2 separate regions of the Homo sapiens genome follow, and region 2 is linked to region 1. Evidence: promoter capture Hi-C in 16 types of primary human blood cells and fetal thymus (Javierre and others, 2016). All regions are on one chromosome and are shown on one strand. Each heading gives the region's core, a stretch centred on a gene start or on the middle of the fragment in contact. The rest is flanking DNA. Distances are from core to core; before and after follow the strand shown. Region 1 holds the start of SHISAL2A (shisa like 2A). Region 2 overlaps TUT4 (terminal uridylyl transferase 4).

What was found. Contacts are between HindIII fragments. The CHiCAGO score rates a contact against its expected background, and 5 or more counts as called.
Region 2: a contact is called between a fragment that was not itself captured here and the fragment with the promoter of SHISAL2A in region 1, in 4 of 17 cell types (non-activated CD4 T cells, total B cells, total CD8 T cells and 1 more). The highest score is 8.1, in non-activated CD4 T cells.

What each region holds. Positions count from the first base shown.
Region 1 is chr1:52,629,883-52,636,098 of GRCh38, reverse strand. It overlaps SHISAL2A (shisa like 2A), which reads right to left and starts at 2,931. Exons shown (of 3, transcript NM_001042693.3): 1 at 2,424-2,931. The coding sequence starts at 2,605. It overlaps LOC124904178 (a long non-coding RNA gene), which reads left to right and starts at 2,644. Exons shown (of 2, transcript XR_007066084.1): 1 at 2,644-2,791. RefSeq lists silencers at 2,604-2,653, 2,664-2,853, 2,944-3,053. The HindIII fragment of the contact is 18,193 bases long and covers 1-6,216 here.
Region 2 is chr1:52,504,161-52,510,376 of GRCh38, reverse strand. TUT4 (terminal uridylyl transferase 4) reads left to right here. Exons shown (of 30, transcript NM_001009881.3): 4 at 665-781. Among named protein-coding and RNA genes, the nearest start is that of TUT4, 46 kb to the left of the region's middle. The HindIII fragment of the contact is 256 bases long and covers 3,208-3,463 here.

The DNA of each region.
Region 1 (6,216 bases), core at 1,682-4,181:
TGTCTCTGTACTTACAAGGGAGGTCAGTGCCATCTTATTTCAGAGCCTAGCTCAATGCCAACTACACAGTGGGCCTTCAACAAAACTTCATTGTTTCACTTTAGGTGAATGTTGTGAAAGTGCCCTAGTGAATATTATCACAGTAAGAGAAATCTGATACAGAAAAATTATCACAGTGAGAGAAATCTGACATAGCTGACTCCATCTTGTGTCTAACTTTACGAGCTGTCTTTCTTCATTCCTGGGCACAGGCCAAGTTAACTATAAGAGGAATTTAGTTTATAGTTTAACTTTAAAACAAAGATGATAACAGCCCCTTCCTAAAACTAACACCCTCCTTGCTCAGGGACTGCAACTGCCTTTGTTAAACTAACAAATTAACCACAAGGTTAGAATTATGGTTCAGGAGTCGTGTAGCTGGAGGTCACATGATTTGTAATCTCCTCAACTCCTCCTATAGGAGGAGTTGTAAAACCTAAAACTGGTGTTTGAGGTATCTTTCAGACCTTTCATTTTGATAGACCAGTTGGTGCCACCTGGACCAGTAACCCATACCAATAAACTGGCTCAACTGGTCTTGTGAGCTCCCCTACCCAGCAACTGACTCAGTGCAAGAAGGTAGCTTTGATCCCCTACGATTTTATCCCTAACCCAACCAATTGGCATTCCCTATTCCCTAGCCCCATCTGCCACCATTCCTTGAGAAACCATAGTCTCCGAATTCTCTGGTGGGGTGGGGGGTGGGGAATGAGGGTGTGGATTTGAGAATTATGTCCTATTTTGCCACTTGGTTGGCCCTGTGATTATTAAACTCTTTCTTTGCTGCAAAACCTGTTGTTCTCAGTGCATTGGTTTTTTTGGGCAGCAAGCAAAATGAACTTGTCAAGTGAATACCATTGTATCTCTAAATAAACTGTGAGTTCCTCAGGGGCAGGGAATAATTGATTTTTGTGTCTCCAATACCTTGCAAAGTGCCTGGCACAAAGTAAAGGCTAGAATGAATGAATGAATGAATGAATATATGGATGAACAGAAAATACATTAATATAATTCCCTGGGTTATAGATAGCACAAATATGTAGGATCTGATAACCTGGCCATCTGAAAATCATTTAGAATTGTGGATCGAGTCACCTAGAAAAAGCAATAATATTTGTAATTGTCATTGGCATATGTCAAGTTGATTTCAGCTCTGTTATGTATGTCATTTGACCGTTACCACTGCCTTAGTCAGAAATCAGGGCAATGATTGATCATCCTACTGCCCGTTTGATAGATGAAAAGCCAGAGACTTGAGAAGTTTTCGTGGCATAGGACACTGTCCTTTCCCACCCAGAGGGCAGCAGCCTCTGCTCATATACCTCCAGGGACAGGAAAATCACTAACTACTGAGATGGCCCACTCAATTTTTGCTGATGCCTGTTTCCCAAAGTAGGCTGAGGATCAAGTTCCATTCTCCAGGTAAGGCCTTTGGAGACCCAGGGGGATTGAGACCTATTACCCTCTCAAGCCAACACTTAGGCTCCAGGAATGCAACCTCTTCCCTGAACAAATGGGGAAACTGAGGTCCTATGGGTGGAGAGTCAACACTTCTATGAATATGGCCTGAGCTAGCTTCTGCACTATGCCATTGTCTCATGATGAACTTGGAGGCAGCTCTGACTCCCGAGTCTTCTGCCTTAGCTTGAGGATGGGGTACATCCCCAGCACTCACCACAGGGCTTGGCACACACCAAGTGCTCAGTAGAGAGTGCCCGAAAGAATGACTAAATACAAAAGGGAACCAAGGGTTGACGCTGGGCTGAGGCTGGGGTTGGGGTGTAGCACCAGGCGAGGGTTAAGTCTGGAGGTTGAGGTTTGGATGTAGATCTAGATATTAATAATATTTGGAGTCAGGATGTGGGAGAAGAGCTGAGGTGGGACTGCAGGCAGGACAGAAGAGGAGGTTGGGGCTGGTGATAGAATAAGGTCTGGGGTCAGTACTGGGGAGTGTGGAAAGTCAGGAATAAGGCTGGTGTTGATATTAGGAAGGGCACCTTGGTGGGATGATGATTGGGGTGGAGTTGGGCTGCCTGTGAATGTTTGAAGATGGAAGTTGCTGTTAGGGGGAGGCTTGATATGTGATTTGGGGTTGGGATGAGGGTGGTGATGGAATGAAGTTTGGGGTGGGGATAGAGTGAGGATTGTTTTGGATTAGAGGAGGGGGAGGTCCGAGCATGGCTCTAAATAATGGTTGGGGTCAGGATGAGGAAATCGAGCTGAGATGGGGTTTCACGGGGTGGTTGATGCTGTGGGCATGAGGACGGTAAGGACTAGAGCTTGCTGCTGATGTTCAGGTGGACACTCGGGTGGGGGCTGAGGCTGGGGTGAAGGCGCTGAGACTGGAGTGGGGTTCAAGGTAGGGTGAGGGCCAGGGACGGTACCTGAGCCACCACATGTAGCTGTGCTCGTAGGGGAAGAAGCTGTGCGGGTCGTCGCAGCAGTACTTGTGGTCGCGGAAGCCGCAGCAGAAGACAGCGGCCGCCTCGCCCCCCGGCCGCGGGCAGCTGAAGCCGCGCACCACCTCCTGCTCTGCGCTCACGTAGCTCGTGCAGGCGCCGCTCATCGCGCCCCGCGCCCAGCCCGCCGCCACCTCGGGCCACCAGACGGCCGGCTAGAGCCCGGCGGGGAAGCGAGGGACCGAGCGAGACGGAGCTGAGCCTGAGAACGGCAGAGACGAAGAGACCCAGGGGCCGAGAGAAGCCGAGACAGAGACAGCAGCGCGGGGCCCCGAGGACCGAGCGGCGGCCAGGTGCCCGGCCCGCGCGGAGGGGTAGGGGCAGGCGGGGCGGGCGGCGGGGGCCGGCGGCGGGAGTGACGGCTGCTGGAACGCGGCAGGAGCCGGAGCGGACGCGGGGAGCTGGGCCGGGAGCCGCGTGCTCGCCTGGCTCTGCCTGCGCTTCCTGCCCCCTCCCCACTGCGCTCCCCCTGCCTGCACGAGGGCGCTGGGTGCGCAACGACAGCACGACGCGGCCAGAGTGGCGGGGCGGGAATTCGAGGCCAGGGCGCGGGCGCCTTACCTGCACCGAGCCGGCGCCGGGAGTCTCGGGGCATTCGGGGCTGGGGCAGACAGACAAGGCACCAGCCGGCGACCACACGGCGGGGTCAGTGAGGAGAGTGAACACAACCTCACCCAACCTCCGCAAAAACCCAGGGGCCCGGGGATGTTCGCATCCGTGTTAAAGGTGAGAGCTGAGGGCCAGAGAGAAGCCATTTCCCGGAGTTCCTAAGCCCACGAGATTTTAACCGGGGGCGGCCTAGTAGGAAGTCCTTGCTCTTTCTGCGGCTTTCATGGTGCCTCTTTTCTAGCGGGCTTTTAGATGTCCTCATCATCTGGAGTCCCTGCTAGTCTCGCTGAGAGCTAGCTCGTGCACGGACAATGTCCACACTCTTCTGTTCATACTGCCTGCCACTGGCCTGGGACAAGGAGCCGAATATGGGTGTGGATGGGCCCAGACGGTAACCTCCTTCCCCACACTGACCAGCAAAGAAAGTCAGCAGACCTGTCCATTTTGAAAAATTACTTCCAGAGAACAAGGGCAGTGTTCTCACTAGCATCAGAGAACCACAGTCTGAAGGGGCTCTCAGTGCCTTGGCTTCCCCCATGTACCCTGTTGCCTTACGCCATCTGGAAGGGCTTCATACAGCACCTTCAGTGCCTTAGCTCTACATTTTTCACAGCAGTGGGTAGGGTAGGAAATAGTTACTGTGGTGCCTCGGGCACCCCCGATTCCTTCGCCCTTGGTTTGGACGTGTGGGGAACGGGCCGTGGGTATCAGGGGATCTGGGCTCCAGCCCAGCTCTACCCCTTCCCTGCTGTTTCTCTCTGAGCTTTGGGTTCCTTGTCCTCACCCAGGCCAGCTCCTCAGATGCTGATTGTGCCGCTGCCCTGACCTGGGTGGGCCCTAGGGCCCCTGAGAGGGATCAGATCTGGGCCTGCCGTTGAGAAACACACAGTCTGATGGAGGAGTCAGACTGACTGACGATCACAGCACAGGGCAGTAAAAAGGGAAATGCAAGGACCTGGACACAGAGGGGCACCATCTGAGGAAGCAGGGGAGGGCTCTGAGGGAGGCGGTGTCCTCAAGAGTCACTGTAAGGTCAAATATGAAAGCTGGAGGGAACTGTTATTATCCTCCAGAACATTCCTCCCCTGAGCTGTGGGTCTGAGCAGACTGGGAGCTGGAGAGCCTACACTAATGAGGGTGCACTTCAGCCTCTTTATCAGATGGAGAGTACAGGGGAGGAATCCTCTGGGAGGGAGAGGCTTCCTGGAGGCCTGGAGATCAGCTGGGAGGAAGAAAGCGCTCTGCCCTGGCTTTTGGCAAAACTAGAAAGCCTCCAACAATTTCCAAAACCCTCTCCCAGCCAAGAATTAATTTGTTCCTCCCAACAGCCCTCTGGGGTGAGCCACGCAGGGGTGAATGTGCCTGAAATAACAAGTCCAATACCACACAGCGATCAATGGCCCAGGCAGGGCTGATACCCATGTCTGTCTCCATGTCCCCCTTGGCAGTCTGATGAAGCCTATGAACCCCTATTCAGAATAGTGGGTTTTTTTTTGTTTTTGTTTTTTGTGTTTTGTTTTGAGATGGAGTCTCACTTTGTCATCCAGGCTGGAATCTCGGCTCACTGCAACCTCTGTCTCCAGGGTTCAAGTGATTCTCCTGCCTCAGCCTCCCAAGCAGCTGGGATTACAGGCATGCGTCACCACGCCTGGCTAATTTTTGTATTTTCAGTAGAGACAGGGTTTCACCATGTTGCCCAGGCTGGTCTTGAACTCCTGACCTCAAGTGATCCACCCACCTCAGCCTCCCAAAGTGCTGGGATTACAGGTGTGAGCCACCGCACCAGGCCACAAATAATGTTTTTAACTAAAAAAAAAAATTATTTAGGGTTACAGAGGATACCAATTATATTGAATCATGATTTGTCCTACTTTTTAAAAAGTGTCAATAAGATCTAGAGATGAGTCTATTAATTACTATAATTTTGAAGTGGTGAATGAAAATAACTAGTATTTCAATATGTCTCTACTGTAATACAATATGAAAATATCTGTGATTTCTATTGGTGACAAAGTCACAAGCACTACTAATACTATCGTGGGTTTTCTTACCAATATGCATGATGAAAGAAAATACTGAATTTCAGTTAGAGGTAATGCATACCAAGGATGTGATTTTTCCCACGTAAATTCATGAACCTTCTACACTCTATCCAGAGGCTCCTTGGGCTCCATGGACTCTATGTGAACATCCTCTCATGTCTCTGTTCTAGCTCCTACTTTAATGCTTTTTCCTTCATTATATGCATTGTGTTCCTTCATTCTGTTCTCCTGCAGACACTTATTACAGAGCTATGATGTGCCAGGCAATACCCATCCTGTATGTCATGTAGTCCTTGAAAACTTCCTTTGAGGTAGGTGTTAGTCTTCCCATTTTGCAGACAAGGTAACTGAGAGAGAGGTTAAATAATTTACCCAAAGCCACATAGCCAGTAACTGATCAGAGTCCTGTACCGCCTCTTCCTCCCTTCCCAAATGAGGCCTGGGGCCAGAGTCCCCAACTCCAGAAGGGAAAAAAGGCATAGGAGGGAAGCGTGGGCAGGGAGAAATATTTATGGAGAACACACTGTGAATGGGAAATTGTGCTCTGTGCTTTTCATTATCTATCTTTACACCAACTATGTGTAGTATTACTTTCTTCATTAAGAAAAATTAAAAATAGGCCAGGTGCAGCAGTTCATGCCTGTAATCCCAGAACTTTGGGAGTCTGAGTCAGGAGGATTGCTTGAGCCCAGGAGTTTAAAATCAGCCTGGGCATGGTGGCATGCACCCGTAGTCCTAGCTACTTGGGAGGCTGAGGCAGGAGGATCACCTGAGCCCAGGAGTTTGAGGCAGCAGTGAGCTGTGATGGTGCCATTGCACTCCAGCTTGGGTGACAGAGTGAGAAGACACCCTGTCTCTAAAAAAAAAAAAAAAAGAAATAAAAAGAAAAAATAACAAAATGCATATTCGTTATAAAACAACAAATTAGAAAATACAGATAAGCCAAAAGGAAAAATAAAAATCACCCATAATTTCACCACACAAAAATATCTATCATACACCCCCAAACCCTGCCCCCATGCACACAATTATGCGCCCATTTTATGGGTAGGAAAACTGAGACCCAG
Region 2 (6,216 bases), core at 2,086-4,585, 130 kb after region 1:
CATTGGAATAAGACTAAATAGCAAGACCACTTTTCTTTTTTTTTTTTTTTTTTTTTTTTGTTAATACGAAGTCTTGCTCTGTTGCCCAGGCTTGAGTGCAGTGATGCGATCTCGGCTCGCTGCTGCAAACTCTGCCTTCTAGGCTGAGACAATTCTTCCACCTCAGCCACCAGAGTAGCTGGGATTACAAGCCTGCGCCACCATGCACGGCTAAATTTTGTATTTTTAGTAGAGAATGGGTTTCTCCATGTTGTCCAGTCTTGTCTTCAACTCCTGAGCTCAAGTGATCTGCCAGCGTCGTCCTCCCAAAGTGCTGGGATTACAGGCATAGCCACCACACTCAGCCCGACTGCTTTTCTTACATTGGATTCTAAAGATGATAGTAGGTGAATATTAAACATAATTTAGCATTACCATGATATTGTTAGATATCGTATTAAAGTTAGTATGTAATCTCCTATGATAACTATTTTGAAAAAGGACTACTATCTCTTCAGTATATAAGTTTATTAAAAACTATTACTTTAGAAGAAGGAAAGGATAAAGAAAAAACCTTCAGTGCTTATTTCTGTCTACTTACATAATTGTATTATTCACTTATATAGTCAATAGTTTACTCCTCTGTTTTCTGAATAAAGTGCATTTTTAAAATTTGTCTCTTCAGCGATCACCAGAATATACCAATTGTCGGTATCTATGCAAACTTTGCTTAATTCACATTGAAAATATCCAGGGGGCTCATAAACATATAAAGGAGAAACGACATAAGAAAAATATTTTGGTAAGTTCTTTTTAAAAAATACTTTTATTTATTTTTCAAGTTGTAAAACCATATTGAATATTTTTTATTTGTGAAACTAAAAATGAAATATTTGTCCAATCTTATATTGGTAACTGAAGTGATAGCTTTGGAAGCAATTGTTGCCTTCCTTATCTGAGATAATCAGGAAGGAACCTTGTTGAGACCGGTTTGCTCATCCTTTAGAATGTTGATTCCTAAGTTTAGAGCTGTTAGGTACAATTAGTCCATCCAACTGATGTTTATTGAGTTCTTGTGTGCTACTTCTAGGCAGTGGTGAATAAGATAGTTGTGGTTCCTGCCCTCAGATTTTCTAAGAATTGATGAGGGCATGCGTTGAATAAAGATTTAAATATAATGAGTCTTGTTAGGGGGGGAAGATTGTGCTAAGGAGGTGTATGAAGATATTTTACTTGATCTAGAACAGGGGAGGTTTCTCTGAGAAAGTGACTTTTGAATGAAGTAGTAGTTTAAATGGCAAAAAGGTGAGTGGCCTAGAAGGGTAAGTGGGAGAGCATTTTACACAAAAAGCAGCATGAATTAAAAGTCTTTAGGCAGGAAAAGGCATGGCATATGAGTAACTTTAAGTCTAGTATGATTGGAACAAAGAGAGCTGGGGGAAAATGATGTGATGTGAAGCTGGAGAAGTGCAGACAATTAAGAAACTTATAAGCTTCGGGAATTTGTAATTTTTCAGTTATTTCTATTGAAATATCCCATAGACATAGATATGAATAGAGGGCTTTTAAAAATGTATTAGTAAATTAGCTATTTAATTTTTTCTTTTTAAAGTTACAACAGCAGTAATAATACTGTGTAACCTCTTATCTCTAGGTCTTAGCTCATGTATCTTCTTTAAGAAATATTCTACCTGACCCTCTCAGCAAGTCTGGGTTGGATACTCCTTCTCTGTGCCCCCATAACAACTTCCACATATTTTGATCAGAAAATCTAACACATTGTATTCTGGCTGTCTACCTTCTCTTCCCTTCTAGACTTCAATATGCAGTGTTCTAGAAGGCATATTTAGTTATTTTTGTTTCTGAGTTCCTTAGGACAGTGTCTGACAACAGTAGGTGCTCAACATAGTTTTCTTGAAAACAACAAATGAACTGAAGCAGATAGAACAGGGACAAGGGAGTAGTTTAGGTGATAATAATTAGGAATTTTCCAGAAATGTCAGAAGATGCCTATCATTAGTTCCAGGAAGCTCGGGCTTGCAAGCAAGAAACCTTTTTTTTTTTTTTTTTGGAGACAGAGTCTCACTCTGTCTTCCAGGCTGGAGTTCAGTGGTGCAATCTTGGCTCACTGTAACCTCTGCCTCCCAGGTTTAAGCGATTACCCTGCCTCAGCCTCCCAGGTAGCTAGGATTACAGGCATACCATGCCTGGCTGATTTTTGTATTTTTAATAGAGACGGGGTTTCACCTGGGCAAGCAAGAAACTTAAAAAGAAAATCATACCTAGGCTGGGTGCAGTGGCTAAGGTCTGTAATCCCAGCACTTTGGGAGGCTGAGGCAGGTGAGTTGCTTGAGCCCAGGAGTTTGAGACCAGCCTGGGCAACGTGGCAAAACCCTGTTTCTACTAAAAATACATAAAAATTAGCTGGGCATGGTGGCATGTGCCTGTAATCCCAGCTTCTTGGGAGGCTGAGGTATAAGAATTGTTTGAACTCATGAGGTGGAGGCTGCAGTGAGCCAAGGTCACACCACTTCACTTTAGTCTGGGCGAGGGAGCGAGACTCTATCACAAAAAAAAGAAAAAGGAAAACTATACCTATACACATTACAGATTGAGTATACCTTATCCTAAATGCTTGGGACCAAAGTATTTTGGATTTTTTCAGATTTTGGAATATTTGCATTATACTTTAATGAGCATTTCCTTTGAGCATCATGTTGGTGTTCTAAAAGCTTCAGATTTTGGAGCATTTCACATTTTGGATTTTCAGATTAGGGATGCTCAGCCCGTATAGGGAAACTTTAGAACATTATAGAAATGAACAAAAAGAAAGCAAACTTGAATGCAGCCATATAGGACGTATACTTTTGGTGAAGTTAGAGTAACAGTGGATTTACTTTTCCCTTGAAATGACAAACAAAAAAAAAATACAGAAATATGAAGCAGTGGTTTTCAGGCGACAGAGTCAATGAATGAAAAACAAATGGCCTGAGCCCAATGTTGGCTCCAGCTTGAGAGTTTCTAGGTTGCACTATAGGGAAGGGAACCCAGTGGACTCTCACAGTTGAAGAGAGAGACCTTAGAGTGCACTAAGTCCAAGATAGCTAAAATTCACAGGACAGTGTAACTAAAATGAGAAAACTGCACAAAAAGAAATCCAGAGAACTGTGGATGATCCTCTTAAAGTATTCAGCACAATGCTGATTGGTGCATGCATATGAAAAAGCTTCCTGAACCCAGGGAAAGAATTGTCAGAGGAAATTAGACCAGTGATTGGTGCTCATACAGGACTTCTTCCTATCCAGACTGGAAAGCCTCGTGCTTCATGGGACACTGGGTAGAGTACTCAGAAGAATCTTGTTTCAGTAGTAGGGATATTTAGCCCTAAACTAAATGTGGTCTGGTCCTACATAAAATATTTTAAAGGCAACATTCAAAATGATAAATGGTTTCCAAGTATTTAATGTCATTACAGAACAAAGCTTAGGAATATTACAGAAATACAAAAATACTCATCACTGAAAAAAGTTCACATAATGTAGCATTTAGTCAAAGATTATCAGGTATGCAAAGAGGCAGGAAAATACAAATCATGATGAAGAGAAAAGTCAGCTATAATAACTGACCTTGAACTGACGCCTTTGTTAGGATTAGCAGAGAAGGACAGTAAGACAGTTAATATAACTGTATTCTTGATGTTTCAGAGATGAAGTAGAGACATGGAAAATATAAAAAAGATATGAACAGGACTATTAGAAACGAAAACTACGACATCTAAGATTAAAACTATATTGGGTAGGAATAATAGTACATCAAACATTGCAAAAGAAAAGGTTAGTGAACTCTTGAAGATAAGCAGTGGAAACCACCAGAGTGAAACACAGAAAGAAAAAATTAAACAAAAAGAAAAAAGTTAATGAGCTCTGGATAATTGATCAATATACATGTACTTGTTCTGTACAAATTTTTCCAGAACACTGAAGAGGAGAAATACTTCCCAGTTCAGTCTGTGAATATGAGGTCCACGTAACTCTGATATTCAAACCAGAGACATATTGCAATAAAGGAAAACTTTATTCTTAACTTGTTGACTCCGACGGGAGAAAAAAAAAGAAAGAAAACTTTAGGCCAAAACTCCTCATGAACATAGATGCAGAAATTCTAAATATAACTTTAGCCAATTGAATCCAACAGCATATTAGAGGAATGAATGTGTCATGATCAAGTGGGGCTTTATTCCAGGAGTGCAGTGTTAGTTTTACATTAAAAAATCCCTCATTGGCCAGGCGCAGTAGCTCAGGCCTGTAATCCTAGCACTTTGGGAGGCTGAGGAGGGCGGATCACCTGAGGTTAGGAGTTCGAGACCAGCCTGGCCAACATGGTGAACCCCGTCTCTACTAAAAATACAAAAATTAGCTGGGCATCGTGGCTCATGCCTGAAATCCCAGCTACTTGGGAGGCTGAACCCAGAAAGTTGAGGTTGCAGTAAGCTCAGATCGTGCCACTGCACTCCAGCCTGGGCAACAGAGCAAGACTTCATCTCAAAAAACAACAAAAACAAAAAAAACCCCGCTCATTGTGATTTACCATGTTAGCAAACAGAGAAAACTATGTGATTATCTCAGTAGATGCTGAAAAAGCGTTTTCAAAAATGCTTTGATAAAAAGTCTAAGCACAGCCAGGTGCGGTGGATCATGCCTGTAATCCCAGCACTTTGGGAGGCTGAGGTAGGCAGATCACCTGAGGTTGGGAATTCGAGACCAGCCTGGCCAATGTGGCGAAACCCCCTCTCCACTAAAAATACGAAAATTAGCCGGGCTTGGTGACCCACACCTGTAATTCCAGCTACTCGAGAGGCTGAGGCAGGAGAATCGCTTGAATCCCAGAGGTAGAGGTTGCAGTGAGCTGAGATGGCGCCACTGCACTCCAGCCTGGGTGGCAGAGTGATACTCTGTCTCAAAAAAAAAAAAAAAAAAAAAGTCTAAGCAAACTAGGAGTAGAAGACGACTTCTATAACATGATAAAGACATCTACAAAGCTGGGTGTGTTAGTCCCAGCTCCTTTGGTTGTTTGAACCTAGGAGTTTGAGATCAGCCTGGGCAATATAATGAGACCCTGTTAAAAAAAATCTACAAAAAACTAACAGTTATCATCATACTTAAGTATGAAAGACTGAATGCTGTCCCCCCAAGATTAGGAAAAAAGACAGGTATGAAAGTAGTGTAGCTGCCATGGAAAAGAGTACGGTGGTTCTTCAACAAATTAAAAATAGAACTACAGTATGATCCAGTAATTTCACTTCTGGGTATACACTTGAAAGAATTGAAAGCAGGGTTTCAAAGAGATATTTATACAACCAGGTTCATGGCAACATTATTCACAATAGCTAGTATGTGGAAGCAATTCAGATATCCATTGATGGATGAATAGATAAGCAAAATGTACAGTATTCATACAATGGAATATTACTCAGCCTTAAAAAGGATGGAAATTCTGCATTATGCAACAACATGGATGAACCTTGGGAAATTATGCTAAGTTAAATAAGCCTTTTAGAAAACGAAAAATAGTGTGTGATTCCACTTACATGAGGTTTTTAGAGTAGTCAGAATCAGAGACAGAATAGTGCTTGCCATAGGTTTGGAGGAGGGGAAAATGGGGAGTTATTGCTTGATAGATAGTTTTGATTTTGCATTTGTGTTCTGTGTTATAGTATTTGGTTTTTATTTTGAGCATTATGGAGTTTAATAACATGTTTGTTTTTTTTCAAGATAGAGTCTTGCTCTATCGCCCAGACTGAAGTGCAGTGGCGCTATCTCATCTCACTACAACCTCCACCTCCTGGGTTCAAGCAGTTCTTCTGCTTCAGCCTCCCGAGTAGCTGGGATTACAAGTGCATGCCACCACGCCTGGCTAATTTTTGTATTTTTAGTAGAGACGGGGTTTCACCATGTTGGCCAGGCTGGTCTCAAACTCCTGACCTCCTGATCCACCCGCGTCAGCCTCCCAAAGTGCGGGGATTACAGGTGTGAAACAGTGCACCTGGCCATAACATGTATTTTTGCAAGGTCACTCACCCTGGCTTCTGTGAAAGAAGCCTGAGAAGGGTCTGTTTGGGGAGACCAGTTAGCCTTTCATAATAATCTAGTTAAGCTGTGATGAACACTGACCTGAAGTAGTAGTTAGTGAGAATGGAATTGAGTTTTAAGAGAGATTCAGGATGTAGAATTGTGGGAG